Regions from separate parts of the Homo sapiens genome. Here regions 2, 3 and 4 are each linked to region 1. Evidence: promoter capture Hi-C in 16 types of primary human blood cells and fetal thymus (Javierre and others, 2016). All regions are on one chromosome and are shown on one strand. The core of a region is centred on a gene start or on the middle of the fragment in contact, and the rest is flanking DNA. Distances in the headings are between cores, read along the strand shown.

The links. Contacts are between HindIII fragments. The CHiCAGO score rates a contact against its expected background, and 5 or more counts as called.
Region 2: a fragment that was not itself captured here is called in contact with the fragment with the promoter of BMP8B in region 1 in 2 of 17 cell types (endothelial precursors and M0 macrophages); the score reaches 5.6 in endothelial precursors.
Region 3: a fragment that was not itself captured here is called in contact with the fragment with the promoter of BMP8B in region 1 in 2 of 17 cell types (megakaryocytes and endothelial precursors); the score reaches 8.3 in megakaryocytes.
Region 4: a contact is called between a fragment that was not itself captured here and the fragment with the promoter of BMP8B in region 1, in 1 of 17 cell types (endothelial precursors). The highest score is 7.2, in endothelial precursors.

The regions. Positions count from the first base shown.
Region 1 is chr1:39,786,625-39,790,835 of GRCh38, forward strand. BMP8B (bone morphogenetic protein 8b) reads right to left here and starts at 2,241. Exons shown (of 7, transcript NM_001720.5): 1 at 1,528-2,241. The coding sequence starts at 1,861. LOC101929536 (a long non-coding RNA gene) reads left to right here and starts at 2,352. Exons shown (of 1, transcript NR_135805.1): 1 at 2,352-3,547. RefSeq lists a silencer at 2,193-2,792 and an enhancer at 2,347-2,848. The HindIII fragment of the contact is 19,151 bases long and covers 1-4,115 here.
Region 2 is chr1:40,017,807-40,022,017 of GRCh38, forward strand. The region is part of intron 2 of LOC105378669 (a long non-coding RNA gene); the gene reads right to left. Among named protein-coding and RNA genes, the nearest start is that of CAP1, 21 kb to the right of the region's middle. RefSeq lists an enhancer at 2,840-3,069. The HindIII fragment of the contact is 2,788 bases long and covers 397-3,184 here.
Region 3 is chr1:39,980,985-39,985,195 of GRCh38, forward strand. No RefSeq gene overlaps it. Among named protein-coding and RNA genes, the nearest start is that of MFSD2A, 28 kb to the left of the region's middle. RefSeq lists an enhancer at 1-242. The HindIII fragment of the contact is 9,070 bases long and covers 1-4,211 here.
Region 4 is chr1:39,602,231-39,606,441 of GRCh38, forward strand. No RefSeq gene overlaps it. Among named protein-coding and RNA genes, the nearest start is that of PABPC4, 28 kb to the left of the region's middle. The HindIII fragment of the contact is 753 bases long and covers 1,830-2,582 here.

The sequences.
Region 1 (4,211 bases), core at 991-3,490:
TTGGACGACTCCATCCACAACTCTTCTTGGTCCTGAGCCCAGTGTCAGCCTGTCCTGATGACAGAGCCCCAGCCCCAGCTTCACAGATGGTCTCCTCTGTCCCACATCCCCACCCTGTCCTCTAACTACAAAGGCAGCATCCAGATCCCACCGGCTAGAGTCCTGTCCCTGGCACTGGGCGCTCAGTGATGGTGAATGGCTGCCTCCTGCTGCTCGCCTCCACCACCAGCTCTGGGTTGCGGGAAGCAGAGGCTTGGCCATGCCCTCTTCTGTCCTAGTGTAGGAAGCAAATGGCTGATGGCCCCACAAAACCTGCTGCGGCTCAGTCCCCTGTTTTCCTCAGCCCAGACTCCTCAGAAAGGTCTCTGCACCTTGAAAGCCTGACCTGACAACAGAAATGTCATCTCTTTGAGCCCTGGATGGACAGTCAGGCTTCCTGGGCCTGTCCTGGCTCAGCAGCGTAGAGGCTGCGCTGTCCTAGGCATGGCGCTGCCTCTCTGAGCCTCACTGTCCTCATCTGGGAGATGGGGATGAAGACCGTGGCTGTTATCAGGGTTGTCGGGAGGATGAAGAATTAATGATGCTGTCTGTGGAGGGAGGCTGATGGCCGGGGCCAGGGACCCTCTCCCTCCTCTCAGCCCCACAGCTCCCCGACTTTGGGCTGATCTGTGGTCCTTGGTTCCCCAGACCCCAGACTGTCACTAGCCACAGACAGGAGGCAAAGCAGATGGGTGACCTGACCAATAGTAACTACATGACCATAGACCAAAGAGTTTAGTACTGGAAAAAAAATCTCTGAGATCTTAGGGAATAAATAGCTCCAGGGTTTGATACAAGATATTTGCAGACAGGAAAAGCCGGGCTTTGCCTGGGAGAACAAAGTGGGTCCAGCTGCCCACTGGACCATTCCACAGGACTGGACACTCACCCCATACCAGATCACATCCCAGGTGTTGGGCCCAGGGTGACAAGGCAACAGTCCCTGCCCCAGCGAGCTGAGTTTGCTCCTTCCCCAGCCGCCCCCCTGACAGCCGCACCCCACCCAGGCTCCGCACAGAGAAGAGCCTGCTGTGGACTCAGGGCACGCGACTCAGCTCTGGTCACTCCGATGTGACCACAGGTTTCCACGCTGAACTTTGTCCCTCTCCTCAGTACTGCCCTTATCACAGTGACAGCATCCCGGCCTCTGTTTACTCACCTGTCTCCCCAGGACCAGGCTGTCTTCCCGGGGCAGCCCAGGTGGGCAAAGACATCACCTGATTCTTACTCCTGGGTGTGTTTGGGGCAGGGTGAAGGCAGCGCCTGGGAGTCCACAGTCCCCCACACTCTGCTCCTGACCACCCCGCAGCCCAGGGGGCCCCCATGACCCTTAGACCTTCCCTAACCACGGCGGTCCCACTCCCCTGTGGTTCGCGTCCACCGTCTGTGACTCCCCGTTCGGCCAGGGCCCGGCACAGCCCGCGGATGCGCGCCCCTCCCCTGCAGCCAGCTTACTCCGAGGGTCCCCGCGCGGGCGGCCGCACTCACCCATGTTAACGAAGCTCATGACCAGGTCGGCGCGGCCCAGGCGCCGCTCCGCGGGCGCGCCGTCCTCGTCGTCGTCGCCGGCCATGGCGTGGTACAGGTCCAGCATGAAGAGCGGCGCGGACGCGGGCAGCCGGGAGGCGGCGGGTGGCGCGCGGGGCCGGGGCCGCCCAGGCAGCCCGAGCACCGCCAGGATCTCGCGCTGCACGTCCCGGCGCTCGCGCGCGCCCAGACGTCGCTGGGGACAGCCGGGCGGGGGTCGCAGGCCGGGGCCGCCCCCGCCCAGCGCGCATAGCGCCAGGCCCAGGAGCCAGAGCGGGCCGGGGAGCGCGGTCATGGCAGGCCGGGGGCGCTCAGCTGGGGCGCTCAGCGGGCGCGCATCGGCTCCGCGGCCGACCCAGGGCCTGGGGACGCCCCGACGGCAAGGAGGCTGGGCTCGGCGGGCGGCGGGCGGCGGGGCGGGGCGGGACGGGCGGCGACCGCGGCCTCAGCGCGGTCCCTGGAGCGCCCGCCGCGCGACACCTGTCCTGGCTCCTGGACGAGAGGACGCGGACGCCACCGCCTCGAGGCCGGGGCTACTCTGCGGACTGGGACTCTCGGCCAATCCGTCTGTCGCCGCCGTACCCGCCAGTCCGGCTGTGGCCGCGGTCCGAGCAGCGCAGGGGCGATGGGCGAGCTCCTGCAGCCACCCGCTTGGTGCGGTTCCCGCGAGTCCCTGCCCTGCCCTGCCCAGCGGTCCGCGTCGCCCGCCCCCACCCCGGGACTGACCAATGGGGGGGCGGGGGCGGGGCCTGGGAGCGGGGGCCACGCCTGCGAGGGGGCCCGGGGCTGCGGCCGGTGTCGCGGGTGGGGAGACCCCGAGGTGCTACCTGGGCGTGGCGGGTGGGCAGGCGGCCCGGGCGAGGGGCTCGCAGCCTGGGCGTCAGCGTGGTCATGGCCGTCGTGGCTTCCGCCGCGGGCCTCGGCGCAGAGATCCTAGGGCCGCGGCGCCCTTCCGGTCCCGCCAGTGGTGCCACCCGGCCGCCCCGCCGTCGCGTGCGCGGGTCGCCATGGCATGCTGCAGGCGCCTCCTTCCCGGCACCTGCTCAGCTGCTCCTCCCCGCGCCCCCACCTGGCTCCCGCGTGAGCCTGGGCAGCGCCCCAGGCAGGCCGCCCCCGCCAGCCCTCGCTGCGCGGCGTGCGCCCCCTGCGCCCCCAGTACTGATCCAGCTTCGCGGGGGAGACGCGCACCCGCCTCCTGCCTTTAGCCGGGCCAGGAGCTCTGGGGCCCTTCTGGAGCACCCGGGAGCCACCTGTGCACTTCTCAGTCGCCACGGCCCCGGTGCAGGCCTGGCAGGAGAAGGATCCCCGCGGAAATGCCTCTACTAACTCAGCCCCTTTCTGCACTCTCTGCTCTTCTCTGGGCGCGCTCTCGCCTTACTTATTCCTGTGTGGTTCAGGCGCTGCGGAAGGAGAAGGCACCTAGACTGTACTGGGAAGGCTCCTGGAGTTGACCTGGAGCGCCAGGAAAGGTCAGTGGAGGAAAGTGCTCCAAGCAGAGGGAAGAGCTTGTGCCAAGGCCCTGAGACCCCGGCGGGGGAGCCTAATAATGGCAGGTAACAGTCAGCACTTGCCACGCGCGAGGCATGTTCTCAGTGTGTGTCTTGTGTCATTTCTGTGATGCTTGCACATCGTCAGGGGGTACCTACCACTGGAACCTCCTCTTTTAACAAATGAGGAAACTGAGGCACACAGCGGTTAAGGGACTTACGCTAGGTCACACAGCAGTAGAGCTGGGCTGGGGCAGGGGGCAGCTCCTCAAGTGGAACCTGGAGAGCCCACGGGGCAAATGGCGGAGGCTGGAGGGGCTGGCAAGGGAGGGACTGCAAAGGGCCTCACAGGGGCTAGACGAGGGCCCTGGGCACCAGTGATTATGGTGCCCCCCCATGTGGATTGAAGATTAAACCTCGAAGCAAGTGTATAATGCCCCCAAAAATCACATTTAGAAGTCATCACTTCAATAAAAATTTCTATATTAAATAAATTATTAATGTAAATGGTCATTTGCTGGCTCCTTAAGCACATGCCTAGTCTGTCTTTTACCGAAGAAGTAAATTTCTGCAAGGGTAAATAATAAAATGAAATAAAATAAATATTATTATTACACTATTCAGAGCACTAAAAGAACTACTTTTTCCTGATTACAGAGGTAACTTGCTTTTGTAGAAACTTTTGAAAATAGTTTCATAATCACTTTTGCACATCATCAGGGGGTACATACCATTGGAACCTCCTCTTTTAACAAATGAGGAAACTGAGGCACACAGCGATTAAGGAACTTATGCCAGGTCAGTACAGAAAAGTAAAAATATTACCCCCAACAAATTTTAAAATCACCCAAATCCCTGTTTCCAGAGATAATCACTGGTAATATTTGATGTCTCTTTTTCTTACATGTATGTGTATTTTTTCATACAAAAAACAGGATCTTATTTGCTTTATTAGCTTCACGTTATATTGCAGTATTTCACTATGCCATTAATTATTGCACACTTTTTTTACTGGCTTCGTGGTATTTTTTCATCATATTGTTATCATAATTTTTTTAATCAAGCTTATGTTATGGGATAATTATATTTTTATATTATATACTATGTTGTTATGAACAATCTTGTAGAATAATCTGTGCACATCCATGGTGATTTCTT
Region 2 (4,211 bases), core at 541-3,040, 230 kb after region 1:
AGCAGTTTTATCTTGATTTCTATATAATCAAATTCATTAATTTTTTACCTTGAGTTATACTTTTTTAAGTTTTAAAAAAGTTTATTCCCTGTCCCTAGGTTATAAAAATATCTTCCTACTTTTTTCTATTAAATTCATAATTTTACCTTTTATGTTTAGGTCTTTAAGCCATTTGGAGTTCACTTATATAGGTGGTGTTAGATAGGGATCTGGTATTATTTTTCTCCATATAGTGATCCTATTTATCAAACGCTTTCTTATTATACAATCCAATCAGCCTTTTTGCCAGTTTTCAATGTATTGCCTTACAGTTCCAAATCTACCCTTCATTGCCTGCTCAGCAAAAATCAAGATGGACCCTTTAAATATTTCTCCTTTGCCAGGGGCATGATACAAAGCTTTGTCAGTAAGACCGTGCTAAAGGGACACAGAGGAAAATGAGTTTCTCCTCTTCTATCTTTCCATCTCGTCAGGATTTTGCAGTATGTGGGATTGCAGGATTTTGCAGTTTCTGTGGCACTGAGCTAGTACCACATGGCTTCTCTAGACCTGCCTCCTACAGCACATAGCAGCCAGCATCGCTCAGTGTCCTCCAACTCCCCCTGGCTTCCTCTTGGGTAGATTTCTAGCAAATTTCACTGATATGACACCTTAGCAACTTCTCCACCATCCAGTGAAGAGGTACTCCCTCTGCAACACGTTTTGGAGCACAGCCCTGAGAGTGGGGGAGGGGGGACTCTTCTTTGGGCATTCTATTTTGTTATAGTTAATAGTCCTTTGTAGCCATGTGTGGTAGCTCACGCCTGTAATCCTAGCACTTTGGGAGGCCGAGGTGGGCAGATCACCTGAGGTCAGGAGTTTGAGACCAGCCTGGCCAACATGGTGAAATCTTGTCTCTACTAAAAATACTAAAATTAGCTGGGGGTGGTGGCGCATACCTGTAATCCCAACTATATGGGAGGCTGAGGCAGGAAAATCATTGGAGCCTGGGAGGTGGAGGCTGCAGTGAGCCAAAATCGCTCCACTACACTCCAGCCTGAGTGGCAGAGCAAGACTCCATCTCAAAAAAAAAAAAAAAAAAAAGTTCTTTGTATTAAACTTTCCTGTTCAAACTTTTTTTTTTTTTTGAGACGGAGTTTCACTCTTTTGTCCAGGCTGGAGTGCAGTGGCGTGATCTCAGCTCACTGCAACCTCTGCCTTTCAGTTTCAAGCAATTCTCCTGCCTTGGCCTCCTGAGTAGCTGGGATTACAGGCGCCTGCCACCATGCCCAGCTAATTTTTGTATTTTTAGTAAAGATGGGGTTTTACTCTGTTGGCCAGGCTGGTCTCAAACTCCTGAAATTGTGATCTGCCCACCTCAGCCTCCCAAAGTGCTGGGATTACAGGCGTGAGCCACCACGCCCGGCCCTTCCTGTTCAAATTACTGTATGGTTTCTGTCTCCTGGTTGCACCTTAACTGACATATTTTCCTGGTTGGACTCTGAGTCATATTCTCATTGATTTGTAGTATACTTTAACTGTATATTAAATTCCCATATTTCTACATGGGTCTATGTCTGAGATCTCTATTTTGTTCTATTGGCCTACTGGCCTAATTTAATCTTTAATGAGATAATAAGTGCAAAATATCTACCCATTACCTAGCACATAGTAGTTACTCATTGAATGGTAGTGATAATTAACATGATAGAGACTACTTATTTTTGCCCTCACAAAGTACCCATCTAGGACCAATAATCTGGCTTTTGTTTAATTTTGTGGGGTTGGAGAAGGGAGGCAGATTCAGTAGGGAGAGATGACGTTCTTGGTTCAATCAACTTATGAATGAATGAAAATCCAGAAATTGCTGGATTTTTCTGGCTTTAAGCCACTGCTTTAGCCATCACCCATAATTCACATTCATGTAGGCATTTACTTCTACAATGATTCTAATAGATCTATTCTATAATTTTTGAATTTTCTTGGGCATAATTAGAAATCATAAACCTATACAATGCAGTCTCATAGAGAAACTCTAGCAAATGCTCCAAGTGTACACAGTACTATTTTTTTTTTACATTTTTGTTCCAAAAGAGAAGTTTCTGTCATAGATTAACCATAAATTATAAAACAAAATCTAAACAAGTAGTAAAACATCTCCCATTATTTTATTTTATTTTATTTTATTTTATTTTATTTTATTTTTTGAGATGAAGTCTGGCTCTGTCGCCCAGGCTGGAGTGCAGTGGCACAATCTCAGCTCACTGCAACCTCCACCTCCCGGTTCAAGTGATTCTTCTGCCTCAGCCTCCTGAGTAGCTGGGATTACAGGCACCTGCCACCATTCCCAGCTAATTTTTTTGTAATTTTAGTAGAGATGGGGTTTCACCATGATGGCCAGGCTGGTCTTGAACTCCTGACCTCAAGTGATCCGCCTGCCTCAGCCTCCCAAAGTGCTGGGATTACAGGAATGAGCCATCACATCCAGCCTGTCTCCCATTCTTAGATGGGAAGATTTAATATGTCCAGTCTACTGAAATTAATACATTTAATACAATCCTAGTTATAAACGTGGTAACTTTTGTGAAGTGGATAAAATAATCTCTAAATTGATGATGTAGATTGTCACCAGCTATAAACATCACCAATTTCTCCCCTCTGATGTGGAGTTACCCTTCTTGCATACGGGCTGGACTTAGTGAATGCTAACTTGCTTAATCAATAGAATGCAGAGAGCCTATGCAACACAGTGAGACTCCAACTCTATAAAAAATGTTTGTTTTTTTTAATTAGCCACACATAGTAGTGCACCCCTGTAGTCCCAGCTGCTTGGGAGGCTGAGGTGGAAGACCACTTGAGCCCAGGAGGTGGAGGCTGCAGTGAGTCATGATCGTGCTACTGCATTTCAGCCTGGGCAGCAGAGAAAGACCCTGCTTCAAAAAAAAAAAAAATACAGAGGAAGAGTCATTCTGAAACGTCCAAGTTTAGATAACAAGAAACATTGTAACTTCCAGCTGGATCTCTTGAAATGTTTGCTCTTGAGACACTCCTCAGAAACCCACACACTAGAATGTGAGAATCCTAAGCCACATGGACAGGCTGCCTGTTGGCACTCTGATTGACAGTCCTAACTAAGCTCCCAGCAGAGAACCAGCATCAACTTCGAGTTATGTGAATGAGCCATTCTGGATATCCAGCCCAGTGAAGCTTTCAGATGGCTCCAGCCCCAGCCACCTTCAAATGCTAATCACATGAGACCCCAAGTGAGGACTGCTCAGCTGACTTCAGTCAACCCACTGAGCATGAGAGATAATAAATCATTGTTTTAAGTCACGAAGTTGGGTATAGATTGTTATTATAATAGTATTAGGTTGGTGCAAAAGTTATTGCGGGTTTTGCCGTTAAAAGTAATGACAAAAACCTGCCGATGCTGTGGCTCACACCTGTAATCCCAGCATTTTGGGAGGCCAAGACGGGTGGATCACCTGAGGTCAGGAGTTCAAGACCAGCCTGGCCAACATGGTGAAACCCTGTCTCTACTAAAAATATAAAAATTAGCTGGGCATGGTTGGGGGGCATGTGTAATTCCAGTTACTTGGGAGGCTGAGGCAGGAGAATTGCTTGAACCCTGGAGGTGGAGGTTGCAGTGGGCCGAGATTACACCACTGCACTCCAACCTGGGCCAAAGAACGAGACTCTGTCTCAAAAATAATAATAATAATAATAAACTAATGACAAAACCCACAATTACTTTTGCACCAAGGTAATAATAGGTAACTGGAATAGAAATTGATACAAGTAGTGTTATGCTGCTGTGACAAAAACCTAAAACATGGGACAGTGACCTAGGACCAGGTAGTTGTTGGAAGCTGAAGGGCCTTAGGAGACTGTTAGTGAAGATTTGAAGGAAACTGTTATTGGAGGAAATTGTTATTGGAGGCTGGAGAAAAAGCAACTATTTTTATGTAGTAGCAAAATGTTTTGAAGAATGTCACCTGTGGTAAAACATAAAATAGAAAGTATACTTAATGTACTGGTGAATTTGGCTAAGGAGATTTCTAGGTGGAATGTTCAAAGTGCCGACTGGTGTCTTTTAGCAGTCAATGGTAAGGTACAAGAAGAGAAAGATAATCTAACAAGGAAATGATTCTGCTTTCTAGAAGAATTTAGAGGGTATATAAAGTGCTCAGGACAATCTTTTTAGCCATCAAAAGTTTTTCAAAGGGGCAGGG
Region 3 (4,211 bases), core at 1,177-3,676, 190 kb after region 1:
TCTGCCACTACAGTCACCGCAGTCACTCTCCCAGTACCTTCCCCTTCAGTGACTCCCATCTGGCCCAGGTGGCCATCCGTGTGGCCTCAAAGGATGTCAGTACCAGAGAAGGCCCAAGAACTACCCAGCCTAGACTCCAGGCTCAGAGAGGACAAGGAAGTTGCACAAGGTCACACAGCCAGCCACAGGCAGAAGGAGAGAATCTGTCTCACTCCTAGCTCAGAGTTATTTTTGTTTTCCAACCAATTTTTTTTTTTTTTTGAGACAGAGTCTCACTCTGTTGCCCAGGCTGGAGTGCAATGGTACGATCTCGGCTCACTGCAACCTCCGCCTCCTGGGTTCAAGCAATTCTCCTGCCTCAGCCTCCCAAGTAGCTGGGATGTGCGCCATCACGCCCGGCTAATTTTTGTATTTTTCGTAGAGACGGGGTTTCGTCATTGTTGGTCAGACTGGTTTTGAACTCCTGACCTCAGGTGATCTGCCTGTCTCGGCCTCCCAAAGTGCTGGGATTATAGGTGTGAGGCACCGCGCCTGGCCATTTTTTCCCACCAAATTTATCAGTTCCTTCTTTTCTTTCTTTCTTTATTTCCTTTCTCTCGTTCTTTCTCCCTTTCTCCCTTTCTTCTTCCTTTCTTCCTTTTTCTTTTCTTTCTCTCTTTTTTTTTTTCAAGGTCTCACTCTGTCCCCTAAGCTGGAGTACAGTAGTGTGACCATGGCTCACTGCAACCTCGAAATCCTGTGCTCAACAAATCCTCCTGCCTCAGCATCCTGAGTAGCTGGGACTAGAGGCGTGCCACCTTGCCCAGCTAATTATTTTATTTTTTGTAGAGACAGGGTCTCCCTATGTTGTCCAAGTTGGTCTTAACTGCTGAGCTCAAGTGACCCTCCCTCCTTGGCCTCCCAAAGTACTGAGATTACAGATGTGAACCACCTCCTGGCCTGTCCGTTTCTTAAGAACCAAGACTTTTGTCCTGTGTCCTTCCCTCCCTTTTCACTGCCATCAGGGCTCAGACTCCAGAGCTAGTCCTCCAGCAATCTATGGCTTTCAGCAGATGGGTTTGGCCATTTCTGTTAACACAAAGGGACAACTCATAGTGTGGGAGGGGCTGTTCTACTCCTTGCTGTTCCTTAAAGGAGTAGCAGAGGCAGAGGACGAGACCTAGGCTGTCTAATCCAACCCCACCTGATGCGTGGATGCCTGTGGCTGCCTTCTGCTTGCTCATGCCTTTGGCAGCCAGCTCATTTTGGCTCAAGGCAGCCTGTTTCATTTGTGGAGAAGGGCATAAAAAAAGGTTTCCTTCATCTTGAAAGCTATCTCCTTGTGGCTTGTCCCCACAGATTCTAGATCCTCTCTTTGGCATCTGCACAATACAACCCTTCTCTTTGTCCCATGGAAGACCTGCATAAATTTGAAGACAGATCTTGTCCCTAGAAATGAGATCAAGGCCTGTCATTCTTCTAGTTATACTTGTTTTAGTAGTCTATAAAGACCAAGCATTTATTTTGCTTTTGTAATTAAAAATAAACAAAAAACTCCTTACTTTTCAATGTTTTATTGAGATATAATTTACATTCAGGAGGCTGGGCGCGGTGGCTCACGTCTGTAATCCCAGCACTTTGGGGAGGCCAAGGCGGCTGGATCACCTGAGGTCAGGAGTTCGAGACCAGCCTGGCTAACATGGTAAAACCCCGTCTCTACTAAAAATACAAAAATTAGCCGGGTATGGTGGTGCATGCCTGTAATCCCAGCAACTCGGGAGGCTGAGGCAGGAGAATTGTTTGAACCTGGGAGGCGGAGGTTGCAGTGAGCGGAGATCGCACCACTGTACTCCAGCCTGACAACAGAGTGAGACTCCGTCTCAAAAAAAAAAAAAAAAAAAGAAATCTTTACTTACCCCAATATCAAAAAAATTATCTTATGTTTTTATTTAGAAGTTGTTTTATTGTTGTTTTATACTTTTTTTATTTAGGTCTATGATCCACTCAAATTAATTTTTGTGTATAGTGTGAGTTAAGGGTCAGAGTTTATTTTTCTCTGTACTTATCCAATTATTCCAGCACCTTTTATTAAAAGGACGTCCCTCCCCTACTTGATTACAGTGGCATAAATCAAAAGAACCTATATGTGTAGGTCCATTTTTGGACTCTATTTTTTTTTTTTTTTTTTTTTTGAGACAGAGTCTTGCTCTGTCGCCTAAGCTGTAGTGCAATGGTGCGATCTCGGCTCAATGCAACCTCCATCTCCCGGGTTCAAGCAATTCTCCTGCCTCAGCCTCCCCAGTAGCCGGGATTACAGGCACACGCCACCACACCCGGCTAATTTTTGTATTTTTAGTAGAGGCGGAGTTTCACCATATTGGTCAGGCTGGTCTCAAACTCCTGACTTCAGGTGATCCACCTGCCTCGGCGTCCCAAAGTGCTGGGATTACAGGCATGAGCCACCGTGGCTGGCCCTGGACTCTTTATCCTGTTCAAGTGATCTACTCAGCTATTCTTACTCCAAGAGTCCCCTGTCTTAATTACTATAGATTTATATAGTAAATGTTGAAATTTGGTAGTGTAAGTCTTTCAACTTCAAGGTTTTGTTTTGTTTTGTTTTTGAGATGGAGTTTCACTCTCTCCCAGGCTGAAGTGCAATGGCGCGATCTTGGCTTATTGCAACCTCCACCTCCCAAGTTCAAGCGATTCTCCTGCCTCAGCCTCCCAAGTAGTTGGGACTACAGATGCCCGCCATCATGCCCAGCTAATTTTTTTGTACTTTAAGTAGATAGGGGGTTTCAGCATATTGGCTAGGTTGGTCTTGAACTCCTGACCTCAGGTGATCTGCCTGCCTTGGCCTCCCAAAGTGCTGGGATTACAGGTATGAGTCACCATGCCTGGCCAAACTTCAAGGTTTTTGGATTGTCCATATGTATTTTGGAATCAGCTTGTCAATGTATGCGTGTGCACACACACACACACACACATACACACACAGAATGTGCTGGGAGTTTGATGGAATTACACTGAATCTATGAACTAATTGGAAAAAACTGGCATCTTAACAATATTGAGTCTTCTAATTTATGAACATGAAATATCTGTCCATTTATTTAGGTCGTGTTTAATTTATGTCAAGAATGTCTTATAGAAACAGGCATGGTGGTGCATGCCCGTAGTCCCAGCTACTTGGGAGGCTGAGGCAGGAAGATCACCTGAGCCAGGGAGTTTGAGACCAGCCTGGCCAAAATAGTGAGACACTGTCTCTTAAAAAAGAGAGAGGGCCGGACGCGGTGGCTCACACCTGTAATCCCAGCACTTTGGGAGGCCAAGGCGGGTGGATCACAAGGTCAGGAGTTCGAGACCAGCCTGGCCAAGAAGGTGAAACCCCATATCTACTAAAAATACAAAAAATTAGCCGGGTGCAGTGGCAGGCGCCTGTAATCCCAGCTACTCGGGAGGCTGAGGCAGGAGAATCGCTTGAACTCGGAGGGCGGAGGTTGCAGTGAGCTGAGATCGCGCCACTGCACTCCAGCCTGAAAACAGAATGAGACTCTGTCTCAAAAAAAAAAAAAAAAGAGAGAGAGAGAATGTTTCAGGTTGAGGTCTTTTTTTTTTTCTTTGAACATTTATTATGATTCTTTTTACATTTTTTGTAGAGGTGGGGTCTTGCTATGTTGCCCAGGCTGGTCTCCAACTCCTGGGCTCAAGCAATTCTCCCACCTCAGACTCCCAAAGTGCTGGGATTATAGGCATGAGCCACCACTCCTGGCCACAGGTTAAAATCTCAAACATCTTTCAATAGATTTATTCCTAAGTATTTGATATTTTTGATACTGATGTAAATGATATTTTTTGTAAATTTCATTTTCTAATTTTTTTGTTGCTATTATAAAGAAATACATTTGTATGTTGATCTCATATCCAGTAGTCTTGCTAAATTCACATATTAATTATATGAAACCTCTACATTTTTAATTTTGAAAACATTTGCATTGATCTTAAAGTTCAAGCTAGTATTTTGATTATTTTAAAACTTCCTAGGCCGATGGGCGCAGTGGCTGATGACTGTAATTCCAGCACTTTGGGAGGCCAAGGCAAGAGGACTGCTTGAACTCGGGAGTCTGAGACCAGCTTGGGCAACATGGTGAAACTCTGTCTCCACAAAAATACAAAAATTAGCCAGGCATGGTGGTGCATTCCTATGGTCCCAGCTACTCGGGAGGCTGATG
Region 4 (4,211 bases), core at 956-3,455, 180 kb before region 1:
AAAAAAATCTGTGCTCTGCCTATTCATCCCTCCCTTCCCCTTAACCCATGACCACAACAGTCCTTTTTACTGTCTCCATAGTTTTGCCTTTTCCAGAATGTCAATTAGTTGGAATCATGCAGTACATAGCCTTTGCAGATTGGCTTATTTATTTTTATTTTTTACTTAAGATGGAGTTTTGCTCTGTTGCCCAGGCTGGAGAGCAATGGCACGATCTCAGCTCACTGTGACCTCTGCCTCCTGGGTTCAAGCGATTCTCCTGCCTCAGCCTCCCAAGTAGCTGCAGGCGCACACCACCACGCCCAGCTAATTTTTGTATTTTTAGTAGAGACAGGGTTTCAGCATCTTGTCCAGGCTGGTCTCGAACGCCTGACCTCAGATGATCCACCCGCCTTTGCCTCCCAAAGTGCTGGGATTACAGACATAAGCCACTGTGCCCAGCCTCAGATTGCCTTCTTTCACTTAGTAACATGCATTTGTTTCCTCCATTTCTTTCTGTGGCTTGATAGCTGATTTATTTTTAGAGTTGAATTAATATTCAATTGTATGGATGTACCACAGTTTCTCCATTTACCTACTAAAGGACATCTTAGTTGCTTCTAAGTTTTGACAATTATGAATAAAACTGCTATAATCATCCATGCACAGGTTTTCTGGGCGGATATGTTTTTAACTCATTTGGTTAAATATTAAAAAGCATGACTGCTGTGTTGTATGGTAAGAGTATGTTTAGTTTTGTATTCCTTTACATTTAAAAATGTTTCATAGTTTTCTGAGAAAACATCTAGCCATCTTTTGTTATATGTATATTTTGTATATTGATCAATGCAGATCAATATGTTACATGTATATTCCTAGGTGCCTTATAATTTTTGTTGCTATTGGAAATGCATTATAAATAATACATTCTTTCTTTTTTTTTTTTTTTGAGACAGATTCTCACTCTGTCGCCAGGCTGGAGTGCAGTGGTGTGATCTCGGCTCACTGCAACCTCTGCCTTCCAGGTACAAGTGATTCTGCTGCCTCAGCCTCCCGAGTAGGTGGGACTACAGGTGTGTGCCACAACGCTCACCTAATTTTTGTATTTTTAGTAGAAACGGGGTTTCACCATGTTGGCCAAGATGGTCTTGATCTCTTGACCTCGTGATCCACCCACCTCGGCCTCCCAAAGTGCTGGGATTACAGGCGTGAGCCACCCCACCCAGCTTTTTTTTGCTTTTTTTTTTTTGAGATGGAGTCTTGCTCTGTCCCCCAGGCTGGAGTGCAGGGGAGCCATCTCGGCTCACTGCAACCTCCGCTGCCCGGGTTCAGGCGATTCTCCTGCCTCAGCCTCCTGAGTAGCTGGGATTACAGGCAAGCACCACCACACCTGGCTAATTTTTGTATTTTTAGCAGAGACAGGGTTTCTCTATGTTGGCCAGGGTGGTCTCAAACTCCTGACCTCGGTGATCCACCCACCTCAGCCTCCCAAAGTGTTGGGATTACAGGTGTGAGCCTCCAAGCCCAGCCACATTGAGAGGTGAAGCCACCTGGACTTCTGGGTTGGGTGGGGACTTGGAGAACTTTTCTGTCTTACAAGAAAATTGTAAAATGCACCAACTGGCACTCTGTAGCTAGGATTGAAAAATGCACCAATCAGCGCTCTGTGGCTAGCTAGAGGTTTGTAAAATGCGCCAATCAGCACACTGTAAAATGGACCAATCAGTGCTCTGTAAAATGAACCCATCAGCAGGACATGGGTGGGGACAAATAAGGGAATAAAAGCTGGCCACCCCCCCCCACCCCAGCCAGCCACCACAACCGGCTTGGGTCCCCTTCCAAGCTGTGGAAGCTTTGTTCTTTCACTTTTCATAATAAAACTCGCTGGTGCTTACTCTTTGGGCCCGTGCCATCTTTAAGAGCTGTAACACTCACCGGGAAGGTCCACAGCTTCATTCTTGAAGTCAGTGAGACCAAGAACCCACCAGAAGGAACCGACTCTGGACACAATATGTTCTTATTTGTTGTTACTCCAATAAGCAATTAACAAGAGTGCTGTCAGAATGTGTGGGATGATCTTGTATTCAACTAACCTGTCAAATACTCTTATCAATTCTAATGCTCTGCATGTAGATTTTTATTTTCCAAATAGAAAATGAATCATGCATATAAGAATGGTGTTACCTCTTCCTACTTCCTAAGCCTCTGATTTCTATTATATTTATTACATTAGCTAGAAATGCCCATCAAATTTTGAATAAAGGGCATTCATATTTTTAACTTTTATGGGAATGCTAGAGTTTCACCGTTGAATTTGATGTTTAGGAATTTGGCAAATATCCTTTATAGGGTTAAGGTATTATCCTACTAATCCTAATTTGCTAAGATTTGAAAAATGAATGAATTCATCAAATGATTATTTATTTAAGTGATTATATACTTTTTATCTTTTAATGTATTAAGGTTCAGAACAGGAATTCTTTCCCTGTTGTTAACCTATCCTTGCATTTTTGGCTAAACTCTACTACATATTTGCTTCTAATTTAGATGTCATATGGATTCTGTTTTATTATTTAGGATGTTTGTATCTATAACCGTAACTAAGCTTGTTCTAAAATGTTCTTACCTTTAATTGCCCTGTCGTGGGCTGATGACAAGGGCATACTAGTATTACAAAACAAGTTAGGCAGTTTTCCCTTCTTTTCCACCCAGTAAAAACAGTTTGTATAAAACAGAATGTATTAGTCAGGGCTCGGCGTGGTGGCTTACGCCTGTAATCCCAGCATTTTGGGAGGCCGAGGCGGGCAGATCATTTGAGGTCAGGAATTTGAGACCAGCCTGGCCAACGTGGTGAAACCCCATCAATACCAAAAATACAAAAATTAGTTGGGTGTGATGGCACATGCTTTTAGTCCCAGCTACTTTGGAAGCTGAGGCACGAGATTCTCTTGATCCCGGGAGGCGGAGGTTGCAGTGAGCCGAGATAGCGCCACTGGACTCCAGCCTGGGTGACAGAGCAAGAGCCTGTCTCGAAAAAAAAAAAAATGTATTAGGGCTCTCCAGAGAAACAGAACCAACAGGACTTATTTTTATTTATTTATTTTTTTTTTGAGATGGAGTCTCGCTCTGTCGCCCAGGCTGGAGTTCAGTGGCACAATCTTGGCTCACTGCAATCTCCACCTCCCGGGTTCAAGCGATTCTCTTGCCTCAGCCTCCCGAGTAGCTGGGACTACAGGCGCCTGCCACCAGGCCCAGCTAATTTTTGTATTTTTAGTAGAGACTGGGTTTCATCATATTGCCCAGGCTGGTCTTGAACTCGTGACCTTGTCATCCGCCCACCTTGGCCTCCCAAAGTGCTGGGATTACAAGCGTGAGCCACTGCACCCGGCCAGGACCCATTTATTTATTATGAGAAACTGGCTTATGTGATTATGAAGGTTGAGAAGTCCCAAGATCTGCAGTTAGCAAGCTGGAGACCCAGGAGAGCCAATGTGTGTTCCAGTCTGAAAGTCTACTGGCTTGAGATCCAAGAAAAGCCAATGTTTCAGTTCAAATCTATAGAATGGAAAAGACCCATGTCCCAGCTCATACGGTCAGGCAGGAGACATTGCCTCTTACTTGAGGGAGGGGTGGCCTTTTTGTTCTATTCAGGTCTGACTGGATGAGGGCCACCCACATGGGGGCATGCAGTTTGCTTTATTCAGTCAAGTGTTAATCCCATCCAAAAACAGCCTCACAGATACACTCACAATGTTTGACCAAATAAACCGAGCAGTCCATGACTCAGTCAAGTTGACACATAAAATGAATCACATAGTGAGAATATATTCTTTGAAGGTCTGGACAACTGAGCTGTGAGTCCCAACAAGCCTGTTATCCTTTGCTCATTTGTTTGGGTGTGGAAGTGTGGGTGACGTATTTTTCATCAGGGTAATTCCCCTGGAGCCATTCTCTCCTACAAGGGCCTACATGGGATGATCCTCCCTGGCTCCTTTGGAGAAACCCTGATCTTAGTCCTTGAAGACTAACAGCATCCAGGAGACTAAAAAACGATGGGCTGTTTTATCTGTAGAAACTACTAGCCTTTGGGCGACACCATTTGGGGAGTTTGTATTTATCATAGCAGTTATGCCGTTATTCCAACTGACCACTAGAGGGCAGTAATGGCTTATAAAACCGGATCCAGTGTGACAAAAGGGCTTTAAAGAAGCTAACGTATGGTGGATTAAAAG